Regions from separate parts of the Homo sapiens genome. Here regions 1 and 2 are each linked to region 3. Evidence: promoter capture Hi-C in human tissues and cell types (Jung and others, 2019). All regions are on one chromosome and are shown on one strand. Each heading gives the region's core, a stretch centred on a gene start or on the middle of the fragment in contact. The rest is flanking DNA. Distances are from core to core; before and after follow the strand shown.

The links. Contacts are between HindIII fragments. The study calls those that stand out against the background at their distance.
Region 1: a contact is called between a fragment that was not itself captured here and the fragment with the promoter of NOB1 in region 3, in 1 of the 25 tissues and cell types used here (dorsolateral prefrontal cortex).
Region 2: a contact is called between a fragment that was not itself captured here and the fragment with the promoter of NOB1 in region 3, in 2 of the 25 tissues and cell types used here (bladder and dorsolateral prefrontal cortex).

What each region holds. Positions count from the first base shown.
Region 1 is chr16:69,901,530-69,904,407 of GRCh38, forward strand. All of the region lies in intron 8 of WWP2 (WW domain containing E3 ubiquitin protein ligase 2), which reads left to right. Among named protein-coding and RNA genes, the nearest start is that of MIR140, 30 kb to the right of the region's middle. The HindIII fragment of the contact is 7,452 bases long and covers 1-2,878 here.
Region 2 is chr16:69,608,448-69,611,191 of GRCh38, forward strand. All of the region lies in intron 2 of NFAT5 (nuclear factor of activated T cells 5), which reads left to right. Among named protein-coding and RNA genes, the nearest start is that of NFAT5, 44 kb to the left of the region's middle. The HindIII fragment of the contact is 3,452 bases long and covers 1-2,744 here.
Region 3 is chr16:69,753,617-69,756,356 of GRCh38, forward strand. It overlaps NOB1 (NIN1 (RPN12) binding protein 1 homolog), which reads right to left and starts at 1,310. Exons shown (of 9, transcript NM_014062.3): 1 at 1,232-1,310; 2 at 978-1,110. The coding sequence starts at 1,294. It also overlaps the pseudogene NONOP1. RefSeq lists enhancers at 356-979, 980-1,602. The HindIII fragment of the contact is 4,198 bases long and covers 1-2,740 here.

The sequences.
Region 1 (2,878 bases), core at 281-2,780, 150 kb after region 3:
AGCCTCCCGAGTAGCTGGGACTACAGGCATGTACCACCACGCCCAGCTAATTTTTTTGTATTTTGAGTAGAGACGGGGTTTCACATGGTCTTATTTTCTAATGGAGAGAGTGGATTTTGATTGAGTTAGCTTTACTAATAATGCCCAGTGCTTGTGTCAGTGAAAAGTAAGCAAATTAATGAATAATACAAGCTGATAATGCTCTTACCAAGACTGAAATTTTGACCATTTTGGTGTATCAATTTATAAGGGCCACTTGAAAAGAATTGCTGTTAGCCAGGCGTGGTGGCGAGTCCCTGTAATCCCAGCTACTCGGGAGGCTGAGGCAGGAGCATCACTTGAACTCGGGAGATGGAGGTTACAGTGAGTTGAGATTGCACCACTGCACTCCAGCCTGGGTGACAGAACGAGACTTCGTCTCTAAATAAATAAATATATAAATAGAGAATTTATCTAAAATTCACTCGAACTCTTTGCCCAGCTTTAATCCCTTTTAGCTTAATCCTATTCTTGGTGAAATGTTGATTTGGTTCAAACAGGTGAATCTGACCAAGAAATATGGTGATCAGAATGGTTGAACACACACTGTAACAACGGGTAATTGAGCATTAATTTCCTGAAGACCTTTGGGAAACCTTTGACAAGAAAACATGGTTCAGGAGACCAGATGATTTCCTGTCTGATAACATGAGAGAGATGCTGATGTCATTCTAATAATGAGATGGAGATGTTTAGCCTTTAACCTGTGAAGATGGCAATTGTGAGTGGATTGGGACGTAGGGTTGGAACATGGTTCATATACAACTGAACCAAGGGCAGCTACAATCCATCAGTGCAAAGGTAATTTAGGGAAAGGAAAAAGTACCTAAGATTAATTGCAGTCAGACGGAGACTGCTTTTAAAGTACTTTGAAGTACAAAGACCTCGTGTAGTCCATGATCCAACCAAATGTTACTCATTGAAGGCCAAGGAGCAATGTGTTGGGTAGGGACTGAAAACAAGCTTGGTGCTTTGAACACTGTTCCTGAGAGCATCAACGGAAGCTATCGAGGGGGACAGGAGATGACCCATGTGACCAAGATGCAGTGTTGAGACCCGTGGGTAGTTTGATTGAAAAGCCTTTTAATCTCAGTGTGAAGGAGTTGCTTATAAGTGACAGAAATATAACCTCTGACAGGGATGCGCTGATGAAAAATTGATACCAGTGTCACTTTCTTGGCATGGGGGGGACCAAACCAAGACAGTCGGAGGCTCCATCTATGTGAGTCAGCGGCCACTGAGGAGGAACAGGAATCAGGAGGCTCGTCTGGTTGGTGATAGAATCCACCGACTGTGCTGCCTGAATGAAGGGGAGAGATTTGTGTGAATTATGAATAGCCATGCAGGTGAGGGAGGAGTGAGGTTCTGTGAGAAAGGGAGGCAGGCCAGGTCATGGATCAGGGAGGACCCGCAGGGACATTTAATCTGAGCAGGGGTCCAACTGCAAAAGGAAAAAATGATATCAAAAAAGGTGATGGAAGAAAGGTCTTGTTCCTCTGGCAACTATTCTTCTCGCTAAGCCAGTTGAGGGGGTTCATAGAAGGACATTGAGCTTTGCGGGACAATAATAGTCCCTGAAAGAGAGACTTTCATTTCCAGCATCAGCCGTGATCAAAGATGGAAGGGTGGGCCTTATCTGGGCCTGTGTCCTCTGAAGACCTGCTGAAACTGTTGAATATAAGGGAAGAGGACTCAGCACTGATTTCATTTCTGGCAGTGTGTGGGAATACCACTGTGTCAATTACAGACATTTATTTCATGGAATTTGAAGCATTAGCCTACCTTCATATTAAAACGTTAGCCAAAGTGTAATAAAATCAGTGTTTCTCTCCTTGTCTCAAATGAACATAAAAGATGTCAAAAGTGGAGACTGCTGATAAGATGAAAGTTGAAAGAATTTTTGGAATAAAAGAAAAATGGCCGGGCGCAGTGGCTCACACCTGCAATCCCAGCACTTTGGGAGGCCGAGGAGGGTGGATCACAAGGTCAGAAGATCGAGACCATCCTGGCCAACATGGTGAAACCCCATCTCTACTAAAATACAAAAAAATTAGCCAGGTGTGGTGGCGCATACCTGTAGTCCCAGCTACTCAGGAGGCTGAGGCAGGGGAATCGGTTGAACCCAGGAGGTGGAGGTTGCAGTGAGCCGAGATTGCGCCACTGCCCTCCAGCCTGGCGACAGAGCAAGAATCTGTCTCAAAAAAAAAAAAAAAGAAAGAAAGAAAAATGTGTTTAAGTTTTGTTTTTAAGCTCCAATTGCTACAACAGATATTTTGTCTTTATAAAAGGGGCAGCCCACCCAAATATTAGAGTTTTCCAAATAGTGACTGAAAAATGAGCGTACTAGTATTAGGGCTTTTGTGCCACAAAACTACCCAAAGAACTGTTTTCAAGGAAGGGAAGGATGCAGCTAAATTCTTCGGGAGTGCTGGAGAGTTCTCAGCTACTTAAATTGCATTAGGAGCAGATGTTATAAAAGAGAGGCTTGCTGCCATTGGCGCTCAGCGCTTTCATTTTTTAATACTTATCCTTAAGCCAAATATCTTTCTCAGGACTTTCTTCATTTCCAAATTCAGATGAATAAAGAGGGTATCAGATTTGCTCCTCTGTTACCGAGCAGACAGAAGGTATTTGGAGAATTGCTGTGAAGCTACAGTATGTCGGCTGTCTTCTGTGCTAGAAGGCCCTGCCAAATCCCCACAGACGAAACACCAGCCTCTTGAGCTGGCAATATTGTTACCCCTTTGCTTTTAAATCAGAAGGGCATTCAGAGGGAGAAGATCTTTAACTATACCCAGTGCGCATTTTCTTTTTTTTTTTTTTTGAGTTGGGGTCTATT
Region 2 (2,744 bases), core at 114-2,613, 150 kb before region 3:
TTAAGAAGCTTAAGAAGACTGCTGGGTGGCCAGGCGCGGTGGCTCACGCCTGTAATCCCAGCACTTTGGGAGGCCGAGGCGGGCGGATCACGAGGTCAGGAGATCGAGTCCATCCTGGCTAACACGGTGAAATCCTGTCTCTACTAAAAATAAGTATATTGAAAATTATCTACCACCATGTGAAATAGTAGTTGTCATTTTAGTCAGGCTGTGGTACAGTGCAATGGCACAATTTCTGCTCACTGCAAGCTCTGCCTCCTGGGTTCACGCCATTCTCCTGCCTCAGCCTCCCAAGTAGCTGGGACTACAGGTGCCTGCCACCACGCCCGGCTAATTTTTTGTTATGTAAATATAATTGTTTTTTCCTCTAGGTTGAAGAATTTAGGTAATCTGGCCAGGTGTGGTGGCTCACGCCTGTAATTCCAGCACTTTAGGAGGCCAAGGCGGGCGGATCACGAGGTCAGGAGATCGAGACCATCCTGGCTAACACGGTGAAAACCCGTCTGTACTAAAAATACAAAAAATTAGCCAGGCGTGGTGGCAGGCATCTGTAGTCGCAGCTACTCGGGAGGCTGAGGCAGGAGAATAGTGTGAACCCAGGAGGCAGAGCTTGCAGTGAGCTAAGATCATGCCACTGCACTCCAGCCTGGGCAACAGAGTGAGACTCCGCCTCAAAAAAAAAAAAAGTATTTAGGTAATCTGCAGAAGAAGGTGGTTCAGGTCTTTGGTTGCTGTTCTTTCCTAGACTCTTCAGAAAAAAATGAATTAACTAGCAATGCTTAAAGAGGTAGTAAATACAAGCCAATCCATTTTCATTCCAGCTGCATTTCATGCTTCAGAGTAATGGCTGTTAGCCAGAATCACTTGTGAAGCTTTATACACATATACATTCTGTGATCTTATTCCCTGTAAACCCCTATTCAGTAGTCGGTCTGTGATGAAATCCCAGGCATCTTCATTCAGGTTAAAAAAAATATACATATGTCTACATGAAATTCTGGTATTCCCTGTTGAAAACCAGTCTTAAGTTAGAGGCATTCTGCAGTTGTACGGAAAGTAAGGGAAACAAAGTTAAAATGGAAAAAATTGAATTAAGAGGCAGAAGTAATGAATTTGATCATTTGTTCATTGCCACTCATTGTAGACACTTATTTTTGATCTCTGTAAACATCAGCTTATATCTCAAAGTATGAGGTCTGAATACTTGCTTGTGGGTGATCATCTTTGTGTAGAATAGAAAAGACAAAGTAGGACCAGGTGCAGTAGCTCACACCTGTAATACCGGCACTTCGAGAGGCCAAGGTGGTAGAATTGCTTGAGCCCAGGAATTCAAGACCAGCCTGGACAACATGGTGAGACCCTGTCTCTACTGAAAAAAAAAAAAAAAAAAAAAAGAAAAAAGAAAATATTAGCTGGACATGGTGGCATGAGCCTGTAGGCCCAGCATACTTGGGACATTGAAGTGTGAGGATCACTTGAGCCTGGGAGGTTGAGGCTGCAATGAGCAATGATTGTGCCACCGCACTCCAATCTGGACAACAGAGTGAGACAAGAAGAGAGAGAGAGAGAGAGACAGATAGAGCGAGTGTCTTGTTGAGTTCTTCAGTGTTGGGTCAAAGAAGGGAAAAAAATTGTGCGTATAAATAGAAAAAAAGAAAACTAACTTTTTAAGGCTTTAAAAATAACTGAAAGTGAAGACCCTGAGATATGAAAAGTGATTTTTGTTAATCAGAAAATTGGTGATTTAGGTGATAATGGGGTGGAAGTTGGAAGATAGGACGTGAGGGGACAGGGTATTTGGATTAAATATAACATAGAAAGATAACATTTTTAGTTCAGGTAGTAGGATATTCTGGTAATGACAGAAAGGAAAACAAGATGGGTTTTTTTTGGTTTTTGTTTGTCTAATATTTTTGTTTTTCATCTCTAAGATTATGGTATAAAAACAGGAATTTATGTTTTAGAATTGTTTGGGTAGAATCACTTAAGGTAGATGATTTGCTTATTCATTCATTTGTTTATTTATTAAGCACATTATTGAAATGCCCATTATGTGCCAGGCATAATAATATAGTAAGTAAAATAGATGGCATTCCTAACCTCAGTGTTACTCTAATTGCATAGACAGGAATGCTGGGGAAAGAATTTATCTTTCAGCCAGCTATTCTCCTGCCTGGGACCCAGCTTTAGCTAGTCTTGGCTCTACAAAGGAAGTTGTAACCTAATTGGAACATAATTTCTTCTCCGTAAAAACTGAGGGTTACACCAAATACTTTCACCACTTCTACCTCTAAAATTCTTGCTTTTAATGTGAATTTTAGATTAATTTAGATTAGATTAATCCCTTAAAACTACATTCATTACATTCATACCATTCTTGCATGGCCCTCTATATATTTCTTCTCTCCTACTACCTTTTTTCCCTCATAGCTCTGGTGTCTTGATACAGTTTTGATTGGCTATTTATGTGCTTTCAGTCAACCTCACTGGACTGAAAGCTTTTTGGGAGCAGACTCGGGTTTCTGTGAACATGTGATTTACTGTGTGTGTACCTATGCACACGAAATGAACAAATGGTGACAAAATTAGTTTTTTCTTATTTTTGAAAATGCTGTTGATCTTGTGAATTTAATATTAGACTGTCTTTCAAGATCAACAACAAAATAATATATGTAAAATAATATAAATTGTAATTCTGCTTGTTTCTTTTCATTGATAGATTATTATGTATGTTTACAAGGACA
Region 3 (2,740 bases), core at 60-2,559:
TCACAGAGCTACTAAGTTGGTGGAGAAAATCGTAGAAATCACAAACAGAGGAGGTAACATCATCTCCACTATCAGCCTCTAACCTCTAAAACACTTCCAACCACTGAGGGGCCTTTCCTGGGTATCACCTTGATTCCCAACAAGAGAACAACGCTGACTCCTAAGCCAAGAGACAATTCTTTAATTTTCTTTATTTCTTATTTTTTTTGAGACAGAGTCTCGCTCTGTCGCCCAGGCTGGAGTGCAGTGGTACGATCTCGGCTCACTGCAACCTCCACCTCCAGGTTCAAGCAATTCTCCTGCCTCAGCCTCCCAAGTAGCTGGGATTACAGGAGCACACCACCACGCCCAGCTAATTTTGTATTTTTAGTAGAGGCAGGGTTTCACCATGTTGGTCAGGCTGGTCTCAAACTCCTGACCTCAGGTGATGCGCCCGCCTCGGTCTCCCAGTGCTGGGATTACAGGCCGTAAGCCACCGCGCCCAGCTTAATTTTCTTTCACATTTAATACAATGCAAAGCATTCCCTTTTTAAAGCTCTGCCAGGTGCAGATCTTTGTATCCAGTCATCAGCCCAATCTACTGAAAAGAAATGGACGAGAGTAATAGCAAGAGATCCAAACTCTTATTTTAAATCCAAATAAATTTATTGCTTGTCTGCAAAGTGCTTGACACTGAGCTGACTGCCATATTCCTCAGTTCATGCTCACAGCAACCTTGGAGACAGATACAATTATTATTCCCATTTTGCGGATGAGGTAAACGAGGCCCAAATTTGAATGCTATGCCCGAGAGCATACAGCTAGTTACTGGAGGACTCCAGACCCAGGAAGCCTCTCTCCTACCACAATCTCCTAGAAAGTGCTGGCTCTAAATCTACTGCTCTGATAAGGCAGCTAGACCCCAACTCGCACCCAACTGGGTGCCATCTGCGCCCTGGACCCCAGCTTCCCGTCAACGCTAGGGCAGAGGCACTCACCCAGCCGCACGTATTCCGGTAAGGGCTCCTTGAACCGCAGCTCGTAGGGCAGGACAGCGAGCCGCCTGCGTGTGGCCTTGTCCCGAATCTCAGTGACCACCTCCCGGATGGTGTAAATGTTCTTCCCGATGTCCTGCGGACAGAACGCCCCAGCTCAGACCCACCCGCACCAAGCAACGCTCCGCGCGACTCCACGCACTCCGGGAGGGGCGGCCAGCCCAGATCTCTCTCGTCCCGGAGGGAGCTCCCCGTACCTGCAGAGCCGCATGCCGCAGGAAAGCCCCAGCATCCGCCACAACGTGCTCCACTGGAGCCATGTTGGCTGCGTGAGAGGGGAGCGCGCATGCGCACGGAGCTTGCGCCGGCTCCTATGTCCAAGTCTGGGCCTCTGGGAACCAGGAAGAGCAGCCGCGACTTAGCTGCGCCTCCTGGCGGCCGCGCCAGCACCTCCCTGCTCTACTCGCGCGCATGCGCAGCGACGCCGCCCGCATAGCCAGAGAAGTGTGGGCGGGGTCAAACCTTGGGGGACACCTGGGAAATCGGCTTCAGCATCTAGACCTTAGTGCCTTCTTCACCTTTGAAGATAAAACCTGCCAGGTGTAGTGGTGCGCGCCTAGAGTCCCAGCTATTAAGGAGGCTGAGGCGAAAGGATTGCCTGAGCCCTGGAATGTGAAACCAGCCTGGGCAACATAGAGAGACCCCCATCTCTTCAATAAATAAATAAATTTAAAACCTGTATATATTCTTATGGTTAAAAGTCAATCAATACAGATTACCTAATTTCGTTATCACAGCACCCCTATGAGATAGGTACTGTTTTTTTTTAAAGGCTTAAAATGTATTTTAATAGGTCGATGCTGCATTACTGCTCCAGTTCTCAGAAAAACTCCAAATATATCAGAGACAAATCAAATACAATACACCAATGGAAAAAAAAGGCACAGCATGACTACCTAAGATAGGCGAGTCTAAGAGCTACTGTCAGACCTTCAGTATACAGTAACCCTGTTCCCAAGATTGTACTAGGCCTATCAAGAAAAGCTGTGAACAGCAGTATCATAGACACAAAAGGGTCATTCCTGGGTGTCCTCACCCAAGAAAAAGATGGAGGCAAGTTAACACAAGATTTTTTTTTAAAGATATACTAAAATGAAAATCTCTAAGAGAAAATGTCTTCTTTAGGACATGAAGGGGTAATATATGGGATATAATAGAACCGTATGTACGTTGCCTGTGACCTTTGTGGACGTTTACCTGAATTCTCACCTGGGAGTGAATGGAGCAATGCGGCTAAGGTCATTGGGGGATGTTTGGTTTTTGTGGTGTATGTGGCAGTTTCTCTGGGACTGGGGGAGTGTAAGGATAAGAAAGCAAGTGAGGTTGGGCACGGTGGCTCACCCCTGTAATCCCAGCATTTTGGGAGGCTGAGGCAGGGGATCACGAGGTCAGGAGTTCAAGATCAGCCTGGACAAGCTTGAACCCGAGAGGCAGAGATTGCAGTGAGCCGAGATCGTGCCACTACACTCCAGCCTGGGCGACAGAGTAAGACTCCATCTCGGGGGCAGGGCAAGCAAATGAAACAAGATGGACAAAAAAAAAAAAAAAAAAAAACAACAAACAAACCAAAAAAACAGAATGATCAAGATTAATGGGCTCTAACTGGATCTACTTTGCCATGGTTTCCCCAGGCCCTCAACAATCACATTTGAGACTTCAGGAATGCACCACACAGAACTGATTAAATAATATACTACATAGAATTG